3 separate regions of the Homo sapiens genome follow, and all the other regions are linked to region 3. Evidence: promoter capture Hi-C in 16 types of primary human blood cells and fetal thymus (Javierre and others, 2016). All regions are on one chromosome and are shown on one strand. Each heading gives the region's core, a stretch centred on a gene start or on the middle of the fragment in contact. The rest is flanking DNA. Distances are from core to core; before and after follow the strand shown. Region 1 overlaps MRTFB (myocardin related transcription factor B). Region 2 overlaps ERCC4 (ERCC excision repair 4, endonuclease catalytic subunit). Region 3 holds the start of PARN (poly(A)-specific ribonuclease).

Region 1 (4,397 bases), core at 1,761-4,260, 550 kb before region 3:
TCTTGCGAATTAAAGAGAGAAACAACCTAGATTGAACTAGGGATAACATGGCAAGACAAATAACAGACTGTCTCAATAAATACGTAAATATTAGCACAAGCCCTCCATGGATCCATATTTTTAAACTATATTGTAGAATTTTTTGTGTCACACACTCGAAGGGACAATACTGGCTTCCTAACAATTACCATTGGTAATAATTAATAAAATATTAACAAGGTTGAAAATTTTTGGTTCAATATCAGTATCTCACTTGTTTGTATATGCTCAGTATTCTGATACTACAATTGTATGTTAACGGTGTGTGGTGTGAGGAAACGATCGCTAATGTTTAGACAGTTTTCCCTTACTCTATTTAAGCTTCCCTTGCTACTTTCTCCTACATTACTGGAGTTTCCCTGCAATTTCTTATAAAAACTTTTAAATATTGTAAAGTAATGCCAGTTTATAGTGGGCTTAATCTGCCCGTTCATTTGAAAGACTCTCGTACCAGGCGAATCTTCATTATACAGATCTGTCCCACCTATGTGTTGTGTGAAGTCTTTTAGATCCAGGCCCCCCAAACCCTAAATGCCAGCGGTGTCCCCCAGTCTCTTTGATAACTAAAAATGTTCCTTGGGGGCAGTTCCAGCTCCTTGGAGAACCACTCCAAACATCAGTGTTATCTAGTCAATTATAATAGGAATTATAAAAGGAAATTTAACAGACAGTTTTTGCTGAGAGTTTTGTCCTGTTTTGTTTTTTCTTTCTTTCAGAAGTGTCTGACGTACAAAAAGCATGCTTTTGGTTAGTGGCGCTTTCATTGATTATTCTAGAATCTCAGATGGGAGGTCAGGTTAGTACCTGTGTCCCTCTGTCTGAAAGATTGGCTGTGTTTAATGGAAATGTTGACAACTAAACACTTGAATCAAGTAGCAGATTGAGGTTAGAATGGAGTTGGGAAGCAACAACAATAATGTGTAGAAATAAGTCTTAGTTAAGTATAATCTAAACTAGTGTAATCACCCTTTAAATAGCTTCTTCTGCTTACTAATATCTATATTAGAGAATTTGGAAAATGCAGATGTATTCAAAGGTAAAACTTAAAATTACCTGTAATCACATATGCCAGTAGTCCTCATGGTGTGATTTGTTAGCAGTTGTCTTTTCATTTCAAACTTTGCTAGTCTTGCTGCATAGGGGAAAATGCAAATCGAGTTAAGAAAGTTCAGCTCAGACCATTTATATGTTACCTACGTATAACATTTATATATGTTACAATGTTACCTACATTGTAACATTATACATTTAACTCTTCTTTTAATAATAGTTTATTTGGCTTTTTTTTGTTGAATAGACGAGTTGCTTCTTGATGTAAGGTGTTTATTATTAGTTGCGTGTTACGTTTGAAAGGTGCTATGGAAACAGACATGTAGGTAATGACTGCTGTCAAAACAGAAGGCTATACTTTAAATTATCTAGAGTTAGAGACATTGAACACTTTGGAGATGGAAATTTATCCAAATTGAGAGTAATGAATTTATATTAATTTGAGCAAGCAGTATCTTGTTCCAGGGTAAAAGAGGTCATTACTGGTTTTTAAAATCAGAACTTTAAAAAATATTCACCTGTATGTAAAAGATGTTGATTGAAAATGTTCCATTTTTCTAGGCATAGGGGATAGATTGTTGAATGGACAAAAGTTCATGCTTTTATGAAGTTTTACATTTGAGAGACACAAATGTTAACTAGAAAATGAATACTATGCACATATCTCTGATTTGTAATTAAGGTGTTTCATTGATTTTTAAGATGCATATGTGAGATAGAATGACATCTTAAAATTAGCATGTGGTTGGCAACTTTTCTTTCTTAGTAGGACATTATATCTTGAAATTGATGGCATCTTAGAGTCAATGAAATAGGGAATATGTAAAAATTATTACATAATTTTACTACATGAATAGGGAATATGAAACAATGATTAATGATTAACACCAAAAACTTGATTCAAAGGGTGACTTGCAAAATGAAGATACACAATATTTCTGGACCCTTCCATTTAAACTAGAATTCTTTACTAAGAAGATTCCTGTAGAGATTTTCCCTTTATGTAAAACAAATGGAGAATCAATGTTTGTAAATATAAGAACCATTTTTTTGAAAATGTTTAAAAGGAAACAAACTGCTTGGTGAATTTTCACGAAGAGCAGATGGTGTGGTTAGTGTGTTTGAGGTAAAGTTAATCAGATAATATAACCAGACAGTTGTATGAATATGGTTTTTTGTGTTTTTTGTTTGTTTCCATTCTGGAAGATCCACTTATAAATGAAAGTTTTCTCAAATGGGACGTCCTTAAATTGGATCTCAGTGAATTATAGTTGTTATTGTTGTTTAAGAAATATATTTGAAAACATACTTACTCTGTGTGAAGTACACAGTTTATATGGGAAGCTAGTTCCGTGGTATACCTTAGCTGGAGACCTGTGTAAGGACTTTTTCTGTCTAATATTGAGTGCAGGTTTCACAGCAAACTCAATCACGTGAAGACCCTTTGCGTACCTTCTTCCTCAGGTGGACTTGTGCTTTGCGTCTTAAAGTGTGGTGCCCACACCATCAGCACGTCAGCAGCATCCTGGAGCTTGTTTGAAATGTAGACTCTGAGCTCCACTCCAGACCAACTGGACCAGAATTTGCATTTTAAAAGATCCCTTCCTGGGCAATGCACGTGAACATATAAAAATCACGGGACCAGATCTGTGGCTGTCAAACTTGAGTATGTATTAAAAGGATTGCTAGCCTCCTCCTCCAGGGTCTCTCTCTGATTCAGTAGGTCTGGGCTGGGCCCATAGAATTTACATTGTTAACAAATTATCAGGTGATGCTGATGCTGCTGGTCCAAGGACCATACTTTGAGAACCATTAGAGTAGAGCTCCTTCTCTTCTCACCTTTTTCTGTTCTCTCTTCTAATTCCTCACCCCGGCTTTTTAAAATAGATTATTATAATCATATACTTTGGCTCGATTGGAGGAAACAAAAGCACTTTGTCTTATAATTTATGGTGATGGCCACACTAAAATTGCTTGTCACCAATTTCAGAGAAAACTTAGACTCTGGTTTGTAGGTGGTTCTCTTTTGCTTCTTTTTGCGAGGTGCTTTTAACATTTACAAATTGTTTTCATGTAGATAAGATGTTCATATGGTTCAAAAATTAAAATGACATAAGACATATTTTGAGAAATCTAAATTCCAATTGTCTTGATTCTCTCCATAAATAACCTTTCATTTGTTTCCTATACATGTCTTTTTTTTGTATAGATGCAGATACAAGCAAATACTAATATACTATATATACTCTTTTTATATAAAATATACATACTATGTGAATATTTTCCTTGCTTTTTTTTTAAAGTTAATATTATCTTGACATACCTTCATATTAGTATATAGGAAACATTTTTCTACACTTCTTTTCTTTTTTTTGAGACAGAATCTCACTCTGTCACCCAGGCTGGAGTGCAGTGGCACCATCTCAGCTCACTGTAACCTCCATCTCTCAGGTTCAAGCGATTCTCCTGCCTCAGCCTCCCAAGTAGCTTGGGACTACAGGTGCATGTGCCACCAGGCCCGGATAATTTTTGTATTTTTAGTAGAGATGGCGTTTCTCCATGTTAGCCAGGCTGGTCTCAAACTCCTGACCTCAGGTTATCCACCTGCATCGGCCTCCCAAAGGGCTGGGATTACAGGCATGAGCTACTGCACCTGGCCCAGAAAACATTTTTCTAAACAACTGTAAAATATACATTGTTTAGCTGTTTAGCCTCCAGTGATCAATATATGAGTTGTTTCCAGTCTGAGACTCACAAATGACGCTGTGCTGAATAACCTTGTGCACATATTATTTTGTATATTTGTAGGCATTATCTGTGGGATACATTCCTAGAGGTGGGATTGCTGGTCAGTGGGCAATGCATTTATAATTGGTGTAAATACTTTCTTCCTCCAGAGTGGCACTTATTTTGAACTTGCCTAAGTAATGTATGAGACTCCTTATTTCTCCGTAACCTCTCCAACAGTTAACCTTTGGATTCGTGTCAGTCTCGTAGATGAAAAATGATAACTCCATGTAGTTTTAATATGCATTGCTTTCATTATGAATCGGGGTGAGCATCTTTTCATGTGCCTAAAGGCTATTTGTATTCCTTTTTCTGTGAGCTATCTGTTCATACCCTTTGCACATTTTTCTTTTGGATTGCTTTTTCTTACTAATTTCTATAAGTGTATAAATTAGAGAGATTAGCCCTTTGTTAGGTTGCAGTTTCCCTCAACTTGTCACTTGTTTTTAAAAATGACTTTCATGTATTTTGGTATAAAGAAGGCTTAAATATGGCTTTCTTTACATTTTATGTACTTAACA
Region 2 (4,739 bases), core at 674-3,173, 690 kb before region 3:
AATTATTATAAATATTGTAATAAGTAGAGGTATACAGAGCACCGCTGGCTGCAAAGGTAAAAGAAGAGGGTGTAATAGGAGAGTACATCAAAGACCTCACCCAGACCACAAGCTGATCGGGAGCCGCTTCCCTGAGGAAATGATATTCAAGCTGATACTAGGCAGATGGGGTGGAAAGGGGGTTATGTTGAACAAAGGCGTGCACGAAGGCTCCCAGGTACAAGAGGCCCTGTAAAGGATTTAGGGCTTCACGGGCAGTAAGACCGCACTGAAGCATTCTAAGTAGGAAAGGGACTTAGGTATGTTTGTAAAGGCTTTCTCTGGCATCAAGCTGAGGAGTGAGTGAGGGTGGAAACCAGTCAGAATGCTAGTGCAGTCTGATGGGAGAAGGTGGTAGCCAAGATTAGGTTAATGGAGGAAAGAAGACAGATTTGAGAGAGATTTGGGAGATAGAATCAAAGAATTGGTGATACTGGATGTGGGCCAGTACCTCCTGACCATTCCTTCACTCTTTTTAGAACAGCCTTTGCCCAAGTTTTCGCTCATTAAAATAATTGTCACCTAGATAGAAATGAGTGCACAGAGCTAAAATACTCAGATTGGGTTTTCAGTGTTCATGTCAGGGTTCCCCAAGATCATCCTCAGGCTCGATGATTCACTAGAACTCACATGAGTCAGAAAAGGTGTTATACTCACAATACAGTTTCTTCCAGCAAAAGGATACAGATTAAGACTGGATGCAGTGGCTCACGCCTGTAATCCCAGCACTTTTGGGAGGCCAAGGCGGGCAGATCACTTGAAGTCAGGAGTTCACGACCAGCCTGGCCAACATGGTGAAACCCTGCCTCTACTAAAAATGCAAAAATTAGCCAGGAGTGGTGGCGCATGCCTGTAATCCCAGCTACCCGGGAGGCTAAGGTGGGAGAATCACTCAAACCCCAGGAGGTGGAGGTTGCAGTGAGCTTAGATCGTGCCACTGCACTCCAGCCTGGGCAACCGAGTGACCCCCGTCTCAAAAAAAAAAAAGAAAAAAAAGATTAAAATCAGCAAAGGGAAAAGGCACATGGGGCAAAGTCCAGGTAAAACCAGGCCTAAGCTTCCAGGTGTCCTCTCCCAGTGGAGTCACATGGATGTGCTGAGTCCTCCCAGCAACAGTGTGTGACCACACATGCAAAGTGTTGTCAACAGGGAAACTCACCTGAGCCTTGAGTCCCCACATTTTTACTGAGCTGAGTCACATAGACACAGAGTACCTCCATGGCTGGCTACAGCTCCTCAGACTCCAGCCCCCAAAGCAGCAACAGACATTTACGATAAATCACATCGTCAGCATAAACTATCTGATCCAGCTGGCACATTGTGACCCAAGGCCTCAGGCATATAAAAACCTTATCAGGGAGAATACTCCAGGGGCTCAGAGCTCATCTCCCAGGAGCTGACCAAGAGCCAGTGTTGAGGAGAGAAGCCTTTCTTGGAAACATGCAGAGTTTGAGCAGCCCAGGCCTGCTGAGTTAATCCTTTCCTGCACAGCGTTAGAGCCAGAGGAGCCTGATAGAATGGGAGGAAGACAGCACCTGAGTAGGTGAGTTTCTTGCTTCGCCTGTCTTCATGCAGCTGCCTCTTCTCCAGTGCATCAGGGAATCTAATCTAGAAAAGAGCACTTTTAGTAGATAGTAGTAAGGTACCAGATCCCATGCCATTCCTGATTTATGCACCTGCTTCTACACATCAAAGGACTCAGTGACAAGATGTGGATTAGCCTTATACATACTGGAAAACCTCACTCAGCAGAACCTGGATCATGGACTCTCTCCCACATTTCAATCCATAGAAAAATTTCTGCACCAGGTTTTAACATAATTTTATCTGTTATCTGGCATAATTTTTAATGCTTTCAATGATGATTGTCTACTTGTCATAAATAAGATCTTCCCATTTTACCCAGCAGTCAATCAGATAGTTGCACTGTTAAGAATCTTAAGATACTTACTTTCCCAGGAAACTTGGGAAATTTGAGAGGTGCTTCTTTTGCAAAGCAAAAACATATTTGAGGTGCATTGTTCAAAAAACATTTGCACTGTGTACTTAAGAGAAAAATTTAATATGAAGATGAGACAATGTGCTTTTACCAAGACCTCCATGGGTGATGTTGTAAGAACAAAAGCAGTTGTGGCTCTTTAACCAGAAAGGAACAAATCAGGTGAACTGACAGTGAAAGGATTGTTTAGCTGGATTAAAGATCTGTAGATTATAGATAACAGATAAAGTGGAAAAGATTACACTGCTAAATATCATAATAATTTTATTTCTACCCAGGGACGTAAAATGCTCCCTGGGTAGAAAACTTAGTAATAACATCCTCAGTATACATAGCTTTGAGGAGGTCACTGCTTTTCAAAGGAAAGGGTAAGATTATTTGAAATTTTACTTTTTGAAAATACGATCACAAAATGGGCTAGCATGAGGGCTTAAGTAAATGCCCATTGGAAGAGACTTCTAGTTCAGTGCTACTTTCCTATGTTGCCATAGGATTATGTTGTACACGGTATTCAAATAACATTGAAGACTGGGTGCAGTGGCTCACGCCTGTAATCCCAGCACCTTGGAAGGCCAAGGCGAGAGGATCACTTGAGCCCAGGAGCTCAAGACCACCATGGGCAACATGTGAGAATCCATCTCAATTTGTTTAAAAATTAAAATAAAATAAATTTTAATAAAAATACCATTGAAGATACTAAAGCAAACATAGGAAAGCTTGGTGCTTTAAGCAGAAATAGGAATCTGAATTTTTTAATTGTTTTGTGTCTGTCACATAGGGGAACTTGGATAATTATGCCACATGTTGAAAGCAAGAGACTGGCTGTTTATAATTACGATACATTTCTGTTAAACTGAATTACTGCTTAGGAAGGCTTATTTTCTTCATAGTCCAGGTTTCATCTCGAATATATTTTTTCTCACATTCGACTTGTAGTTAAGTTATAACATTTAGTGGTAAACTAGCTGTTTTCTGTAGCTATTAATGGAAACAATTGTGGAATTATTTGAAAGCAAATCTTCAGTTTTTTAGTATAATCATGGATAATTAGACGAAGAGATTACCACGTTATAAGAAAAGTACAGTAATAATAACACCTAACATTTATATAGTGCTTACTAGGTGCCAGGCACTGTTCTGAGCGCCTTGCATATGTTATGTAATCCTCATAACAGTCTTTTGAGGTAAGTTTTTAAATTATTATCCTCATTTTACCAATAAAGAAGTTGAAGTACAGAGCCATGAAATGACTTGCCTAAGGTCACGTGGCCAGTAAATGGTTTCAGATCCACACACTTTGGAACCGGAATCTGTACTCTAACCCCCTAAGATTATACAGACTACAAATTAATCAGGAAATTGGGATGATCCCATGTGTGATATACAGCTTAGCCAGTGTAACAAGTAGAAACAAAGTGGGGGACACAACATAATAATACCAAATGAATGTTAAGGAAAAATAGAAGAGCAGTAATTTTTTTGAATGGTCTGCCCTTTGTCCTAACCAGAGTGCAATAGAGAGAATGGAGTGGTAATGAGTGGCAGCCAGAGCCATTGCCATTGCAGAGGGCTTTTCAGCAGGTAGCGCTTGAGTCTGGTATTGAGAATAATGAGAAAAACATGGAACTGAAACCATTGTCTGCCCCCTTGTGATCTACTTATAAAATTTGTACTAATAATATATTTGCATTTATAGGTTGTTTCAAATAGTATAAAATTTTAAATTACAATTTCTGTTCTTTAGTAGTATCTTCTAGTGATACCCTGCTCTAAAATATTTATCCAGAGTGGTTGAAGAATTGAACCCTCTGATTTCATTTCCTCTAATGGGTGTATTAGTCCATTTTCATATTGCTATGAAGAAATACCCCAGACTTGGTAATTTATAAAGAAAAGAGGTTTAGTTGATTCACAAGTTTCACATGGCTGGGGAGGCCTTGGGAAACTTACAATCATGGCAGAAGGGGAAGCAAACTTGTCCTTCTTCACATGGCAGCAGGAGAGAGAATGAGTGCCAGCAGGACAAATGCCAGACACTTCTAAAACCATCAGATCTCGTGAGAACTCACTCACTATCATGAGAATAACATGGGGGAAACCACCCCCATGACTCAATCACTTCCCACCAGGTCCCTTCCAGGACACATGGGGATTATCGGAACTATTAATTCAAGATGAGATTTGCGTGGGGACCCAGCCAGACCATATCAATGGGAAAATCTTGGTTGTTTTAACCCTTGTTGAAATTAATTAACATTGATGGTTCCTCTTCTGTTCCCCTCACCTTAGTCTGTTTTATCGCAGTTCCTCAGTTCCAGTTGTTTTTTTTTTTCTTCTCATGTTTGCTTTGTTCCCTCGACATCAGTTGTGAACCCAAGCAGGGAAGAGACTCAGCTTATATATCTTTTCTGTCATACCTGGCAGAATTAATTATAACATACTTTATCAATTTTGAAAAATAAAGCTACCGCAAACCTGGCTTACTCTTTCTGTGATTATTGAGGATCTTGTCATGATGTAGTTCCAAATTGCGAATCTTAGTTATGATTGTACTGTCCTCTAGATCTACCGTATAAGATATGAGCCACCTTGAAGACAGGAATTCTTGCGTGATCACGATTATATCCAAAGTACCTAGAGCACCACGCAGGAACACTCCATAAATGTTTTTCAATAAATGCATGAGTGAGTAATGAATGCT
Region 3 (4,435 bases), core at 394-2,893:
GTCTTGGTCAAGAGTTTGGAGTGGTTAATATCTATGCAAAGAATGTATCTTCAAGATTAAGAGAAAATTATTTCTCTAAGTGAAAACTCTTAGCTTCCTAGGGAAGTGATTCCAACTAGACACTACCTAAAGCCAAGGATACTATTTACCCCTGCATGGATTCCTTCATGATTCAAACATGGAAAATCAGACAGCAAAAATGGATATCCATATCAAAGGGAGTGAACCGTTCATATTGACATCAGCAATTTAAAAACTAGTCTTTGCTCCCCCTAAAAAAGGGGAAAAAAAATTTGCAACTTTAAGTGTCAGTGAAGTATTTCCTGTATACACACCTGTTGAGGCAGGCAATGAACACGTCCACTAATGCATAAAGAAATATCTCATTTATCTGCAAAAACCTGACCCTAGCCGGTCACAAAAGGGCAAATATTGTAAGATTCCACTTATATGAGATGTTAAGGGCAGTCAAATTCAGAGACAAATGGCGGTTGCTAAAGGCTGGGCGAAAGGAGAAATGGGGAGTTTAATGTGTAAAGAGTTTCAGACTGTGAAGATGAAGAAGTCCTAGAGATGGATGGTGATGTTTGCACAGCAATGTGAATGTACTTAATGCCACTTAACTGTAAAGCCACTTAAAATGGCAAATTTCATGTTATACCTATTTTACAATCAAGAAAAAAAACAGTCTGACCCTAATCCTCAAGCTCTCTGCAATGTACACGCCGCACTGTTTTAAGCAGCATCAAAACCATCATCTCTATCTGAGATCCTGAGTCCAATCACAAACCTACGGCGTATCTTCATTTCTTTCGTGCTTTTGAAACGTTTAAAGGGTAACACTGAGACCTGTGAAACCCGCCCAAGGCTACTAACAGCAAGAGGCCACCACCAAGCATAAGAAGTTGGGGGCTGGGGGATTGAAGGAGCCTTGGCTATGCACTGCAAAGTGCTAGCCTGAGCTTGCAAGGGAGGGATACCTGAAAACTCCCCATCGATGGCGAAGAAGTCGGCCTCCTCTATGGCCTGGTACACTTTGTGAAGATTACTCTTAAAATCTGCGGAGAAACCGAAAAGAGGCTCAGAACCAGTGGCCTGAATTCCTGCTAAGGGGAGAGGGAAGGAGGGCCGAGGAGCTCCCGAGGCTGAGAGCCGGAAGGGGAAAAGTCCCGGAGGTGTGCACCGGGGCGAGGGGAATCAAGTCCTCGAGGGGTGCATGGGTCAGGGGGGACAAGCCCCGGGGGGTGCCCGGCCCGGAGAAGGACAAGGCCCCGGATGGTGCCGGGGTTGGAGGAGTAAGTACAAGGCTCCTAGGGTGCACGGTCCGCAGCCGGAAAAGACCCCAAGAGGCGCACCGGCTTAAGGAGGGAAAAGCCCTGAGGGGCTGCCTCAGCCCCAGGCCCAGCCAAACACGCCGGCCATGGTCTCGGCCTAGCAGGCCAGGGGCAGCCGGGTGTGGGGAGGCGGGGAGGTGTACGGCGGACACGCACTGCTCCTGATTATCTCCATTCTGCAGAGTGGCCGGAACCTTGGCCCCACCCGGGCCCGCGCCCGCCTCAGCGGTTCTACTCGCCGAATTCCGCGGCGACTGCGGCAGTAGCTGAGGCAGCCGCAGCGGTGACGCCGGCCGCGACTTCCGGAAACAGCGCGCGCCTGCTGCGCTTGCGTCAGCGCCTGCGCGGCGGCGGGGGCGGGGCCAAGGCTGGGCTCCTTTCCCTCCTTATAGGGACAGGGGAGGGGCGTGGCTATCGAAGTCCCCAAGGCGTGGCCTAATTTGTGCGGGCTTTCACTTCAGTAGAAAAAATGTGCATGTCTCGACATCCAGTCGACCAGGAAATACTGACTGGGTTTCTGTGATATGCTAGCCACTCTTACAGGGGTGGAGATACAGTGATGAACAGGAAGACGTGCTCCCTGCCCCATTGTAGCTTAAACTTGGGGTAAGGGGAAATTCAGGCAGGAGTGAAACTTGCCATTTGGTAACACATGAAAATCGCTATTAAGAAAAAGAGCGGGGCGATGTAATAGAGAATAATGGGATCCGGGTGCGGTGGCTCACGCCTGTAAGCCTAACACTTTGGGAACCCGAGGCGGGAGGATCCGTTGAACTGAAGAGTTCGAGACCAGCCTGGACAGCATAGTGAGACCTGTCTCTTAAAAAAATAAAATTAGGCCGGACCCGGTGGCTTATGCCTGTAATCCCAGCACTTTGGAAGGCCGAGGCGGGCGGATCACGAGATCAGGAGTTCGAGACCAGCCTGGCCAACATAGTGAAACCCTGTCTCTACTAAAAATATAAAAATTGGCTGGGCTTGGTGACTCATGCCTGTAATCCTAGCGATTTGGGAGGCAGAAGCGGGCGGATTACCTGAGGTCAGAAGTTCAAGAGCAGCCTGGCCAACATGGTGAAACCCTGTCTCTATTAAAAATACAAAAAATTAGCCGGGTGCAGTGGTGCGCGCCTGTAATCCCAGCTATTCGGGAAGCTGAGGCAGGAGAATCTCTTGAACCTGGGAGGCGGAGGTTGCTGTGAACCGAGATCACGCCACTGCACTCCAGCCTGGGTGACAGAACGAGACTTGTTTTCAAAAAAAAAATTAAATTAAATTAAAAGAATAATAGGGGTTGTTACTTAGGTGATCACGGAAAGCAAAGCTGAGACCCTTAGCTACTGCATTAGCCTCTGGGAATACTATGTCGAGTGCAACATATGAGGCCCGGCCCTAATGGAATTGTATGTTGGTTTGGGGTTGCTGTTCTCCAATGCCTAGCACTGGGCTGACACGTAGTAGACACTCAATAAGCATGGGTTGAATGAATACATTCAGGTTGGTCTTTCACAAAAGCCAACTATGAAAAGTTGGTTAGTGCCGGATGCGATGGCTCACGCCTGTGATCCTGGCACTTTGGGAGGCCGAGGCAGGCGGATTGCTTGAGGCCAGGAGCTCGAGACCAGCCTGGGCAACACGGTGAAACCCCATCTCTACTAAAATACAAAGAATTAGCCTGGCGTGGTGGCGCACCCCTGTAGTCCCAGCTACTCGGGAGGCTGAGGCAGGAGAACTGCTTGAACCCGGGAGGCGGAGGTTGCAGTGAGCCAAGATTGTGCCACTGCACTCCAACCTGGGCGACAGAGCGAGACTCCGTCTCCAAAACAAACAAACGAACAAAAGGAAAGTTGATTAGAAGACCTATTTTCAAAATCTATCTCAGCCACTTATTAGTTCTGGAATGCATTAAACCTTCCTAAACCTCAATTTCCTGGGATTGTATTGAGGCTCAGTGGTGCTAATGAATGTGAACTGGGAAGCAGCGTATTAATAAATCTGTATAAATAACTGTTTAATGGGGGCCTGGCGCCATGACTCACACCTGTAATCCCAGCGTTTTCGGGGGCTGAGGCAGGAGAATCGCCTGAACCCAGGAGTTCCAGACCAGCCTGGGGAAAAGAGCGAGACCCTGTCTCCATAAAAATAAAATGAAATTTTAAAATGAGCCAGGCGTGGTTGTGCACGCCCGTAGTCCCAACTATTCACGAGGCTGAGGTGGGATAATCGCTTGAACCCGGGAGGCGGAGGTTGCAGTGAGCCAAGATCGTGCCACTGTACGCCAGCCTGGCGGGTGAGAGTGAGACTCTGTCTCAAAAACAAACAACAACAACAAAACAAAACCAAATAATCAGCATAAGTTCTAGACGCTGTGACCTAGACGCTGGGAAGGGGCGAAACGTGGTGATAAGAAAACCATTTCAAGCTGTACGAGGTGGCTCACGCCTGTAATCGCAGCACTTTGTAAGGCTGAGGCAGGAGGATCCCTTGACGCCATATGTTCAAGATCAGCCTGGAAAACGCAGCGAGACCCCATCTCTACGAAAAAAAAAATATTTTAATAGAAATAAAAGTCATTTAATTCCGATTCTTAACACCGTAAATTGAACGTATAGTCCTGTGATTTTCTACATAAAATGTGAAGGCAAAAAATAACTGTAGAGAGTACGGTGCGGCCTTGTAATATTTTAATTTCTAGGCAAAGCTTGTATCCTCCGGATACAAGAACAGCCGCCCAGGAGGAGCGGAAACTGACACACACCCGTCACCCCTTGGGCTGTGACTGCCGAGCCCGGGTACTCGGTCTCTGGGTGAAGAGGAAGGGGCGGGACCGGCGGTATTACGCATGCGCCCACTTCCTCCGGCTGGGAGTGGCCGCTCTAGGCAGCGGGGAGGTCGCGGGGTTGAGGGGGGTTGTGAAAGGAGAGCGGCCTCTCCTCTATGGTCACGGGGCCGGGGCACGCTTCCCCCACTCTGTCTTGTTACTTCCGGTAGCGAAGCCTCTCCCTCTTCCTCTGCTCCCGCGGGGTCTGTGCTGAGAATAATGGCCCGGTTGGCCCGGGACGAGTGGAATGGTAAGCCGCGACACGGCTGGGGGGTGCTGAGGG

Evidence for each region. Contacts are between HindIII fragments. The CHiCAGO score rates a contact against its expected background, and 5 or more counts as called.
Region 1: a contact is called between a fragment that was not itself captured here and the fragment with the promoter of PARN in region 3, in 3 of 17 cell types (fetal thymus, non-activated CD4 T cells and naive B cells). The highest score is 6.7, in fetal thymus.
Region 2: a fragment that was not itself captured here is called in contact with the fragment with the promoter of PARN in region 3 in 1 of 17 cell types (M0 macrophages); the score reaches 6.1 in M0 macrophages.

Annotation. Positions count from the first base shown.
Region 1 is chr16:14,072,747-14,077,143 of GRCh38, forward strand. The region is part of intron 1 of MRTFB (myocardin related transcription factor B); the gene reads left to right. Among named protein-coding and RNA genes, the nearest start is that of MRTFB, 3.6 kb to the left of the region's middle. The HindIII fragment of the contact is 5,305 bases long and covers 359-4,397 here.
Region 2 is chr16:13,939,373-13,944,111 of GRCh38, forward strand. All of the region lies in intron 9 of ERCC4 (ERCC excision repair 4, endonuclease catalytic subunit), which reads left to right. Among named protein-coding and RNA genes, the nearest start is that of ERCC4, 22 kb to the left of the region's middle. The HindIII fragment of the contact is 1,658 bases long and covers 1,095-2,752 here.
Region 3 is chr16:14,628,617-14,633,051 of GRCh38, forward strand. PARN (poly(A)-specific ribonuclease) reads right to left here and starts at 1,644. Exons shown (of 24, transcript NM_002582.4): 1 at 1,491-1,644; 2 at 981-1,058. The coding sequence starts at 1,509. BFAR (bifunctional apoptosis regulator) reads left to right here and starts at 4,335. Exons shown (of 8, transcript NM_016561.3): 1 at 4,335-4,402. RefSeq lists enhancers at 612-1,135, 1,136-1,657, 1,658-2,180, 3,780-4,347, 4,348-4,435. The HindIII fragment of the contact is 4,468 bases long and covers 1-4,030 here.